2 separate regions of the Homo sapiens genome follow, and region 2 is linked to region 1. Evidence: promoter capture Hi-C in 16 types of primary human blood cells and fetal thymus (Javierre and others, 2016). All regions are on one chromosome and are shown on one strand. Each heading gives the region's core, a stretch centred on a gene start or on the middle of the fragment in contact. The rest is flanking DNA. Distances are from core to core; before and after follow the strand shown. Region 1 holds the start of PTPN18 (protein tyrosine phosphatase non-receptor type 18). Region 2 overlaps CCNT2 (cyclin T2).

The links. The method cuts DNA at HindIII sites, captures the fragments that hold promoters and counts their contacts. A CHiCAGO score of 5 or more calls a contact.
Region 2: a fragment that was not itself captured here is called in contact with the fragment with the promoter of PTPN18 in region 1 in 1 of 17 cell types (neutrophils); the score reaches 9.0 in neutrophils.

What each region holds. Positions count from the first base shown.
Region 1 is chr2:130,352,568-130,358,779 of GRCh38, forward strand. It overlaps PTPN18 (protein tyrosine phosphatase non-receptor type 18), which reads left to right and starts at 3,489. Exons shown (of 15, transcript NM_014369.4): 1 at 3,489-3,633. The coding sequence starts at 3,541. RefSeq lists silencers at 3,069-3,738, 3,879-3,928. The HindIII fragment of the contact is 15,291 bases long and covers 1,754-6,212 here.
Region 2 is chr2:134,922,431-134,928,642 of GRCh38, forward strand. All of the region lies in intron 2 of CCNT2 (cyclin T2), which reads left to right. Among named protein-coding and RNA genes, the nearest start is that of CCNT2, 6.7 kb to the left of the region's middle. The HindIII fragment of the contact is 4,940 bases long and covers 1-4,757 here.

The DNA of each region.
Region 1 (6,212 bases), core at 2,239-4,738:
GTTTTCAAATTTATGCCCCCCCTTCCACTTTTGTTTTAACTTAGAGGAGGGAGTAAGGAGGTGGGCGTGGCAATATCAGAAAGGGAAACTAGCAGTGTAATAATAATATTAATAGTACCAAGTGTATACTGCAAGCCAAGTGCTGTTCTATCTAAATGCTTTATATACAATGATTTCCTTAAATTCTCACAATAAAGCAACAAGAAGAGACACAGTCCTACAGAGGAGGAAATTGAGACATAGAAATTAAATGACTTGCCCAAGGTCATACTGAGAAAGTCATGGTGCCAGAATTCTAACTCAAACATTTTGGTTCCAGTCTTCTGCCCTTTTTTTATTTTTATTTATTGATTTTTTTTTTTTGAGGCGGAGTCTTGCTCTGTCGCCCAGGCTGGAGTGCAGTGGCACAATCTCGGCTCACTGCAAGCTCCGCCTCCCGGGTTCAAGCCATTCTCCTGCCTCAGCCTCCCGAGCAGCTGGGACTACAGGTGCCCGCCACCACGCCCGGCTAATTTTTTGTACTTTTAATAGAGAACGGGGTTTCACTGTGTTAGCCAGGATGGTCTCTGCCCTTTTTTAACTAAGCAAAAAAGGAAGCTGGAGAAGAACTGTACCCTGGAGATGCCAGCAGTCTCCAAGGAGCTCCCCGCAAGCATCCCAGAGGAAGGGGTGTCTGCCAGGGGTCTCCACTGTAGTTTCTCTTTTCCCCTTTGCAGGCTCAGAGCAGGCTGAACTCACAGCCTTGTGCACCTGTCCCTGTGCATCTTCCTCTACCTTGTCCTCTTGGCTCTGTTGAGCGGCCCATGTAGCCACACTGACTGGTGGGCAGGTGACAGACTGGCACATGGCACGTGGGCTTTGGTACACTTGGGGTCTCTGTAGCAGTGCCAGCAGCTCCCACTGTGCAAGACTGCTGCTGGCAGCGTGAACAGGAGGGCCACCAGCAGCAGTGAGTCTCATTGCAAGAACACAGCTGGCAGTCCTCCGGGAGAGAAAAGCCGGGGTGGGCCAGGGCCTCTGGAAGATGTGGGGTCTTCCCATCCCCCACACCTAGCCTGAGCTGAACAGAGGGCAAGCTAAGAGTTTGGATGTTTGGAGAGACATGAGGAACGGTCAGGTGTCAGGAGGACAGGTGGGTTAAACAACAAGGTGGGGCTTGGAGTGAGGGTGAACACGAGGACAGAAAGACACTCAAGGCAGCTGGAAGTACAAATGGCAGACTACAGCCTCAGCCACTTAATGTTCACAGGCCACAAGGCAGCATCTGGCTAGTCACTCAGATCCTCTAATAGACAAACCACCAAACACACACACACACACACACACACACACACACCCTGGCTGGACAGACTTCCAGATGGACAGAATCCCAGGGAAACACCCAGCTGGACAAACAGACAGATTACTGACAGATGGGTAGACCCTCAGCCAGACATCCAAATAGGCCTGTGGCCAGAGAGACACCTGGGCCCCCCAGCCAGGCAAAGGTCAGAATCCCTCAAGGACAGGTGCCCTCCCCAAAATGGACAGAGACATTACCCCAGAGGAGAGAACACCCCACCCACCTAGTCAACCAGACCTTCAGCTGGACGACATGCCCTCCACCAGTCAGACAGACCTCAGCCTATGAGGACAGGCCCTCAACAGGATCCCTGCTGCTGGACAGAGATCCTCTAGCCCATAAAGACTGCCCTGAATAACCATGTGTGCTCAGGGGCTCACATTTTCCCAGAAAATGTCTTTATTTTCTGAAAGCTTACTGATGCTTCTGTATTCTACCTCCCTGGATCTCCATGGCCATCCACAAACCCTCAATGATTATACTGAGAGTCACTATCATGCACTGAGCAGAGCTCTCAATGACTTCCCAGACTCTTCGGACCCTTCAATTACTAACACTCCAAATCCCAATGGCCCCACAATTACTTTCACTTCTTGTCCCAAGTATCCACTGGCCTCCCAATGACTGTCATTAATATCTACTGACACCCCCCCCCCCATGAACATCCAAGGGACCCCGACTGGCTTCCAATGAATTCCCTATCACCACCATCCTAAACAATTACCTCCCTGAGAATGCTCAAAGATGAAACTGATAAATGATGAACATGAATCTCACAGTGACCCCTGCGGACCCCACGATAAATCAAACAGCCCTAGCTGCTGATCCCCACAGAGCCACTTTGATCGCTCCATCACTTCAGCCAAGGTCAGCAAACGACAGCCTGTAGGCCACACACACACACTAGAATAATTCATGACACATGAACATTACATGAAATTCTGATTTCTTTGTCCATAAATGGTTTCTTTGGGACACAGCCACACTATATTGTCTGCTTTCATGCTGCCACAGCTGAGTTAAGCAGCTGGGGCAGCGATAGCAAAGCCAAAACCACTTCCTACCGGGACCTTTAAGAAAGTGTGCCCTTAAATACTCTGATAGCCCCTAGTGAATTAAATTGACCACCTGACATCATGCCCCTGTTGACCCTTCAGAGACTCAGGCACACATCCAGGCCCCAATGCTACCTTTCAACCCCTCAACGACCTCAAACTGGTGTCCACTGACGCCCCTTCCAGTGACACCCCTCTTAATTCTTCCGACCTCGGCGAGAAGGGGGCTAACCTAGGCCTGTCCTTGAAGAGACCCAGGTGCCAGTCCATTCTCTCCAGCCTCCCCTCGGTGATCCCGGAAGCTGGAACGGCGGCTCTCCTCTGACCTCTGCACACTTTCTGAAGATGGGAGTGTCAGGGCAGGCAAAAAAGAGAAGCTCTTCGTTCCCCAGAACCCACTTCCAGTGCCTCAGTTCTGTTTCCCAGCAGGCTTGTGCAGGTCGAGATGCTCACACAGGACTGACCCTGGTGCCCCAGCGCATCCGGGAAAAAGGAACCACAAATTCCTCGGGAAATACACAGAGAAGATCCCGCTGCCACTTGGCCTTTCCCACGGCGTGGCTGCCCCTCCCCGGCCTCCCTTGGGCCCGGCTGGAGCGCACAGCGCGGGACGCCCCCGACCCGGGGTCCTCTGGCACGAGGGGCAGCCTGATCTCGGCGACCGTCTCCACCCAAGGCTGCTGCCCGCCCCAGCTCGGACTCCGCGCGGCCTGGCTCCCAGGGGACGGGCGGGAGGGCCCGGCGAGACCGCTCGGCCGTCCACCCAGAGCCGGCACCCGGAGGTCGGCCCCTGGGCGCGGATCCCGATCTGAGGGCGGGTCCCAAGCGGCAGGGAGCGAACCTGGGACCGTGCCACCCCCCCACCAGTGGGCGCGGCAGCCGAAAAAAAGGGGAAGCGCCGGCGCTGGACTCTGCTCAGGGCAGCCCGCGAGGACCTAGGGCTCCGGCCACAGCGGCCCGAGCGCCCGGGGTGGGGCTACGCGGGCTCAGAACACGGTGGCTGGGGCGCCCTGCCCGCCGCTGCGCGCTTCCATTGGCTGCCGAGGCAAGGGCGGGGACTCAGTCACCGGCCTCCGCCTCCCGCGGCGTCCACACTCGCCGCGCGCGCGGCGGCCGGGCTGGACCTTGCTGGCCCGCGGCGCCATGAGCCGCAGCCTGGACTCGGCGCGGAGCTTCCTGGAGCGGCTGGAAGCGCGGGGCGGCCGGGAGGGGGCAGTCCTCGCCGGCGAGTTCAGCGTGAGTGGCACACGGGGTCCGCGAGCGGCGCGCCCCGGCCCTGGCCCTGCGTACGCCTGTCCTCCGCGCACGGCGGGCTCTGCCTTTCTGTCTCGGTGTCCCCGGTGTCTCCCCGCCTCGGGGGGTCTCTCCGTGTTTCTCTCCCCAGCACTTCTCTGTCGCTCTTGCTGTCTCCGTCTTCACTCTCTGCCCCCCGGCCCCGGAGCGCGACGTCCACGGCCAGGCCGGGACGGACCGTGCACACCCTCGTTCCCGGTGTCCTCGTCGCGCTCCCGGAACAACCTGGCTGCGGGCGGGACAGGTGGGGCGGGCGCCGCAGGGGAGGGCGGGCGGCCCTGCTGCGCTGGACAGCCCCGGCCCCGCCGCTTCTGGCGACCTGACTGTCCCCTGTGACCACAGGAAGGAAGGGGCTGCAGCAGGGCGAAGAGGAACACGGAGGCTGTGGCGTGGTGAGGGTGTGAACGCCGGGCTCGAATCCGCGTCCGGGCCCGAATCCGCTTCCCGTCCCGAATCCGCGTCCCGGCCATCCGCGTGTGGTCCAGGCGGTCTACCTGGCCCCTCTGACCTCGGCTTCTCCCTTGGTGAAATGGGGACATGAATGACCAAACTGGTCTAAGGATTAAATGATGTGGGTGAAAAGCACTTAGTACATATTGGGCGCACACTTCGTAGGGGCGTTCGTCACTGCCTATAAAGATTCTAAACGTGGGCCAGGTGCGGTGGCTCACACCTGTAATCCCAGCACTTTGGGAGGCCGAGGTGGGAGGATCGCTTGAGCTCAGGAGTTCGAGACCAGCCTGGGCAACACAGCGAAACCCCGTCTCTACTAAAAATACAAAAATCAACTGGGCATGGGCGCATGCCTGTAATCCCAGCTACTAGGGAGCAGAGACAGGGGACTCGCTTGAACCTGGGAGGCAGAGGTTGCAGTGAGCTGAGATGGTTCCACTGCACAGCTGAGATGGTGCCACTGCACTCCAGCCTGGGCCACAGAGTGAGATCCCATCTCAAACAAAACAAAACCAAACAAAAAATCTAAACGTTACAATACAGGTAGTGCAAGCCCAGCATTAGGAAGGCTCACGCAGAATGCTAGGCACTGTACATTACAGTTGATGACGTGTTTAAAGTGTAATCGCTTATGTACCAGACATAGAAACATACCATACAAACGCATAAACTGATATATGGTGACATGTATCAAGTTTAGAAATATGACAAATATATAAAAGTATTATAAATGACCGTTTATACAATAAACATTGCATAACTGCATAAAACAATACAACAAATGAATATAACAAAGATTATAATTTATAAAATGACCAAAGTTATTTGATAAATTCATAAGTAGATATAAAATATGTAACAGATGGCCGGGCACGGTGGCTCACGCCTATAATCCCAGCACTTTGGGAGGCCGAGGCGGGCGGATCACGAGGTCAGGAGATCCACACCATCCTGGCTAACACGGTGAAACCCCGTCTCTACTAAACACACAAAAAATTAGCTGGGCGTGGTGGCGGGCGCCTGTAGTCCCAGCTACTCGGGTGGCTGAGGCAGGAGAATGGCGTGAACCCGGGAGGCGGAGCTTGCAGTGAGCCGAGATCGCGCCACTGCAGTCCAGCCTGGGCAACAGAGCGAGACTCCATCTCAAAAAAAAAAAAAAAAAAAGTAACAGATAATTATAAACCTAAGTAATTTACACACATGTAGAAACATTGTATATAAGAAACTAAGAAATGCATAATAAATGTAAAATATATAATTATACAATATAAGAATGTGTGTAACAAATGTAAACATAATACCCATGTGATATATGACATCATGCGACTGGGTGGGTTCTGAACCGTGTACAGTGCGGAGGGCCTCACATGCGGAAGGCTGGGTGGCGAGGGCACCCCTGCTCCCCAAGCCTGCCTCCCGCATGTGCAGGAATCACTGCGCTCTTCTAGGTGTTCCCACTACACAAGGGCATCATGAGGGCTTAAATGACCCAATGGACACAAGTAAAGCACTTAGAATAGTGGCTGGCACACAGTGGTGGCATGGGTGTTACTTATTATCATTGAGATTACGAATACCTGACGATGATGGTAATACACGATTCACTAATTATTATTATAATCTCCCAGTAACACAGTGCCTATAGTATCTTGTACATAATATGTTATCCATTATAATGCCTATGCATTCATTGTACATTGTCTTATATGTTTAGCTACATAGCCCATAATATATTTCATTACAGTTATTGCTTACAAGACAATGTCACAGATTGAGTGTGCAGGGGGTGGGTGCCGAGAGGGTCTGAGTTCAACCCTCACCGTGTGACTTCCTGGTTGGGACCTTCCACAAGTCGCTGAACCACGTGGTGCATAAACTTTCCCGCCTGCACAATGGGGACGTCAATAATAGTACCCACGTCGTAGGAACCTGTGATGATTACATGCCCTTAGCACAGAGAGTGGCACAGAGAAGGTGCCCTGGGTCACTATTTCGGTATCATTATTATTAGGCAGGCCCAGTGCCATCAGGGTCTGCACTCACCTCCCCAGGCCACTGGCTTTGTATCC
Region 2 (6,212 bases), core at 1,038-3,537, 4.6 Mb after region 1:
GAATAAAATCAGTATCAGCATGTTTTGGTGACCCAGAAATGGTCTCTTATCATTGAGTTCTTTTGTCAGTTACTCAGAGTTGAATAGCTGTCAGCAGTAAATGACTTTTATATGTAGCCTAATTAGATAAATCTACACTTTGTTCACTAGATGCAATGAGGTTCATGTAATTGGAATTAATAAAGAATGGCCTTGCTGGATCAAGCTCAAAAATAAATTTAGTAAAGTGTAAAAGCCCTGGAGCCAAAAGTGATGCCAAGGTATATACTGAGGGAAAGCACCCACCCCCCAAGTCACACTTAAGTAGATATTGACCCAGCTTCTCTTACAAACTCCTAATTTGGTCTTTTGTGATGCATTTTTTTTCTTATACCAGTTCCAGGTCTCTTAAGATTAGGTTGTAAAGAGCACACCCTTTTCTAAGTATTTTTGTTGGTCATGGTCTGTTCTCATAGCACATCTCCAATTTATTTGATCTTTTCCATCTTCTCTTACTTCCATTGCCTCTTTCTTGAGCTCTAGCAATCAGAACTCCATGTATAATATGCAAGATTTAAAGCTATTGTAGGGCCTGGCATGGTAGCTAATGCCTGTAATCCCGGCACTTTGGGATGCTGAAGTGGGCGGATCCCTTGAGGTCAGGAGTTCAAGACCAGCCTGGCCAATATGATGAAACCCCATCTCTACTAAAAATATAAAAATTAGCTGGGTGTGGTGGCACGTGCCTGTAATCCCAGCTACTGGGGAGGCTGAGGCAGGAGAATCACTTGAACCTGAGAGGTGGAGGTTGCAGTGAGCCGAGATCACATCACTGCACTCCAACCTGGGCAACAGAACGAGACTCTATCTCAAAAAACAATAATAATAATAATAAAAATAAATAAATTTTGCTTTTTCTCCTGTTCATTTCAATTCATTGTTATACTCTGGTCATGTTTTACAGAAGTCAAATCAGCATATGTTTCATTGTGAAGTCTAAGCAGGTGTTTATAGCTTACTTCTCTTTCTGCCTTTTAGTTTAATAAAGCAATAATTAATCCAACAATAATCTTATGCCCAAGATCCATTAGCATTACTTGGAAATACTGCAGTGCTGTCCAGTAGAACTTTCTGCATAGCGCAAGTTTTGTGTATCTGTGCTCTTCAATGTAGTAGGTACTAACCTGTAAATTTGAGACGATTAGCCTAGATGATTTTTAAATTCCTTTTAAACTATAAATTACCTGGTTGAAATTTTATTAAGATCTCACTATGCCAGGCACTTTATATTTGTCTTGTTTTCTCAGGTAAAGTATTCTCCTAAGGAAGCAGACGCAGTTACCAAGTGACTTGTCCGAAATTAAAACTATTACGTGGCTGGGATTTGAACCCAAGTCCTTTGCTTAATCCCAAACTGTAGTTCTCACTTTTTCCTGTTCTAGTATATTTCAGAAGTAGAGCACAGTAGCAATTTATGCCAGTGATTTGTAAGATTTATAAAGTAAACAATGAAAAAACCTCAGATTTTTATTTGCCCGCCTCATTGCACTAAATCCAATGAGGTCCTCTTTATAAGTCCCAAATTCCTCTTTTTCAACTATACATCAGTGTTAGCATTTATGCATTGTGTATCACTGTTTTTCCTTAGGGTGCTTTCTCTTTGCTTTCATGTGACTGTGCTCTGTCAGGTTTTAAGACTCAGCTGAAGTTGCTACTCTTTCATAAAGCATTCCCCAGATAACTCTCTTTTCCATTTGTGAATTTATCTCTCTGATCTTACCTTTGAATCTTATTCACATCCAGTTGTATTCCATCTATTTGGGAGTTTATAGTGCTGTAGTGTAACTGTACATATATGAGATGAGTGTTTTCTTTTTAATTGTAAAATATATAAAACCACCAAACAAATGTATAGTGGATTATTATAAAACAACCTTGTAATCACCAACCAAGTCAAGAAATAGAACTTTGCCAACTACCCCGGAATGTCTCCACGTGCTCAACTCAGTGTCGATCCCCTCCCTCCAAAAGTAACCAGTATTCTTTTTTATTTTTTTGAGATAGGAGTCTGGTCTTGTCGCCCAGGCTGGAGTGCAGTGGTGCAATCTCGGCTCGCTGCAACCTCCGCCTCCTGAGTTCAAGTGAATCTCCTGCCTTAGCCTCCTGGGTAGCTGGGATTACAGGCATGCACCACCATGCCCAGCTAATTTTTGTATTTTTAGTAGAGACGGGTTTTCACCATGTTGGTCTGGCTGGTCTCAAACTCCTGACCTCGTGATTCCCCCCACCTCGACCTCCCAAAGTGCTGGGATTACAGGCGTTAGCCACCTCGCCCGGCCCCAGTATTCTTACTCTAATCACTTTCTTTATAGTTTTAGCACCCAACTCTGCATTCCCAAATACCATAGACCTTGCTCATTATTAAAAATTTGGTAAGTCTTTGAAGTCTCTCAGTATGCATGTTTCCCCTCCATCTTTTTATGTCAACTAAGTTGTAGCTGTTGAAGGACCCTAGAGTGTGTGACCTGTAGAGTTTCCAACTGTCTGAATTTTGCTGATTGTATACTCATGGTGCAGTTTACTGTGTTCCTTTTTTCTTGCATTCCTGGAAAAATTGATGATTAGATCCAGAAACTTAATCAGACTCCTGTTAGATCCCTTAGGCAAGGCTATAGATGGTGTTAATGTTCTTTGGTCAGAAGGTCTAAAGTCTGGTTGTCTCTCTTTGTAGTGTTAGTGGCTGCTGATATTCAATGCCTGGGTCCTTTCATTCATTGGTGATACTCTAATTCTGTCATTTCTTTCTTACAAATTGGTATTTTTGTATTGGAATTCTTGATTCATCTCATATGGACACCCAGTGGCACGTATCATATAGGATAATTACTGGATTTTTGCCCTTTTTGTGATATAATTCACATATTGTACATTTCACCCATTGAAAGTATGATTCCGTGGGGTTTGTGGGTTTTTTTAAGAATATTCACAGAGGTGTGCATCAATTTTTAGAAGTCTTCACTACACCAAAAAGAAACCCCCAACCCCGCAGTCATTTCTCCCTATTTTTCCCCCAGCCTATTAATAGACATTTCATTAATGGAATCCTACAGTATGTTGTCCTTTGTGACTGACTTCTTTCACTTACCGTGTTTTCAAGGCTCATCTATGTTGTTGTATTTATTCAGTAGGTTGTTTACTTTTCTTGCTGTACTACCCATTATTCCACTGTATGGCTAGACCACATTATATATATATGTTCATCAGTTGGTGGGCATTTGGATTGTTAGCCACTTTTTGGCTAATATGAATAGTGCTCTTAAGAACATTTGTGTACAAGTTTTTGTGTAGACTTGTGTTTTTGGTTTCTCTTGGGCTTATACCCAGGAGTAGAATTGCTGGATCATATGGTAACTCTAGATTCCAATAATATTGGAAACTTGGATAGCTGCCTTTTTTTTTTTTTTTTTTTTTTTTGAGACTAGGTCTCCCTCTGACACCCGGGCTGGAGTGCAGTGGCACAATCATGGCTCACTGCAGCATCAACCTCCTGGGTTCAAGTGATTCCCCCACCTTAGCCTCCCAAGTAGCTGGAATTACAGGCACATGCCACCACACAGTTAATTTTTTTAATTTTTTGTAGAGACAGGGGTCTCACCATGTTGCCCAGGCCGTTCTTAAACCCCTGGACTCAAGCAGTCCTCCTGCCTCAGCCTCCCAACACTCAGCCTAAAGCAGCTCTTTCCAGTGTGATTTGTCACTTTAAGCACCACTCTTCTAGTCTTTTCTTACAGTCTTTGTGTGAACTGAATACTCTTCGGTTACTCATTTTTGTGAGATATTAGCTTTCCTGAACTTTAAAAAGGTGATGTACCTTCAGAGTGCTTTAATAATTTCACAGAGCTCCCTTTTCTGTTATTTTGTGTAATGTTCAGAAGTGTAGCAGCTTACTTTCTGGGAGTTTCTGGCCCTCTTCCCCTCCACATTTTTAGTTTCTCTTTTCCCTTCTTCCTATCTTGCTGATTGTGCTTTTCCTCCCAATGGTTTCTCTTCAAACTGGAGTCTTGGAAGAGAACCTTGGAAGATCAATTTCAAAAGTTCGTAGAAGTTAGCTTCGGTCTTTTAATCCTTACTGTAGGTCTCTTGCATCCATCTACTTATTGGACTGGCAAAACTCCCAGTGCTAGCTGCTCTTCTCACATTGGCCTGCCATGATTTCCAGTGAATGTCTTTTGGCTCTTTGAGGTTCTTCTTATATCAAGTCCAGCACATGCCCCATTCCTTTGCATCTTGTTGCACTGTGCTGTGTATGTTGACATAGTAGCCTGTTTTTTCCTCATTCGTATGTGTTAGGAATTCCCTAGGAATGGCTTGTCATGTGATTTGGTTGTAGCTATCCATGGGGTTTTGGTTTTGCTATCTTGTTGCTCTGTTTTTCTGTGGGGATTTAAGTATCCCCTCTGCAGCCATCAACTCAGAATTCTTCAGGTAAATCACTAAAAGTTTACCTTCATTCAGAAGATGATACACTCATTTCCAGTGGGACTTCATCTTTCCAGAAGTATTTATAAGTACATTTAAATGACAGCCTATTGTGGTCCCACTGGAAATGAGTGTAAGATGAAGTTGATTTTTTAAAAAGAATAAATCACTTGAAGTTTCTGTTAAATAAGGAAGCTGTGGGAGAGTTCATTTATTAATAGGCATTACAAAGAATATATGATATTTTTGATTGATTTTCTCAAATTAATTCTGAAAGCTACTCTAGAACTTCCCCAGAAAGCTTTAAATGTTATTTTGAAACATGCTGCTCTTATCTGCCTAATTACAGGGATACTGACTTCAGTGACTCTGTATTATTATAGAAGTCTTATGAAGTATTCCTGAAGCGGCTTAAAATTTTTTTTTGCAAAATTAAATGATTGTGAAATAACTCATACCTTTTCTCTGCACACACAGATACATGTATATTTTAGCCTTGGTAATTTATATGCTTCTCTGTGGTCCTGGCTCATCCTTTTTGTTGAGTCATCGCATGGCAGGAGTGCAAGAGAGTGAACCCAGTCCTGCAAGATCCAAGGCGCTTTCAAACCATAACAAATTCTAAACTTAGGTGTATAGAGTAGAATAGGTTAATATATTAACAAATGTGCATTGAGTGTTTGCATTGGCCAAGGCATGCAAATGTCTCAGTATAAAATCAGACAGATTTTATATAGTTTATAAACTGATTTTCAAGGCCATTGCAGAACAGGAGTTTTGTTTTTAGTATTAATAGCTAAAATTGGTTAAGGTAATTTTTTAAGTGAAAATCCAATTAGATAACTGCATTTTATTATAAACATACATATACATTCTAGGGAGTACATATTTACACATGTTCTAGGGATTAGGGGAAATGATGGAATCTCCTTACCACTCTACATTTTCTGGTGTTAACCTAATATTTTACCCCTAAATAAGCTAAGGCTCTGATTGTTAGTGACATATTACATACTCTTTATATGGCTATACATAAGGAAATACATGTAACGTGAATTTTTCTCTAAATTATTTGGAGCTGATACAGAAAAGAAATGGATGAGAACTGTAGAAGTTCACCTATTTGTTATTAAAAGTTAAAAGTGAAGTTAAGGCTTGTGCTTAGTGACAATATGCAGTTCAAGCAATTCTCCTGCCTCAGCCTCTCAAGTAGCTGGGATTATAGGCATGTGCCACCACACCTGGCTAATTTTAGTAGAGACGGGGTTTCACCATATTGGTGAGGCTAGTCTCGAACTCCTGACCTCAGGTAATCCACCTGCATTGGCCTCCCACAGTGCTGGGATTACAGCATGAGCCACCATGCCCGGCCTCACATTGTATTTCTTTTTTTTTTTTTTTTTTTCTGAGACGGAGTTTCATTCTTGTTGCCCAGGCTGGAGTGCAATGGCGCGATCTCGGCTCACCACCGCCTCTGCCTCCCAGGTTCAAGCAATTCTCTTGCCTCAGCCTCCCAAGTAGCTGGGATTACAGGCATGCACCAACACTCCCGGCTAATTTTGTATTTTTAGTAGAGCCAGGTTTTCTCCATGTTGGTCAGGCTGGTCTAGAACTCCCGACCTCAGGTGATCCGCCCGCCTCAGCCTCCCAAAGTACTGGGATTACAGGCATGAGCCACCGTGCCCAGCCTATATTTCTATTTGACAGTGACGGTGTGGGCTATAGTCATTTGTATCCACCAGCAAATAGAATTA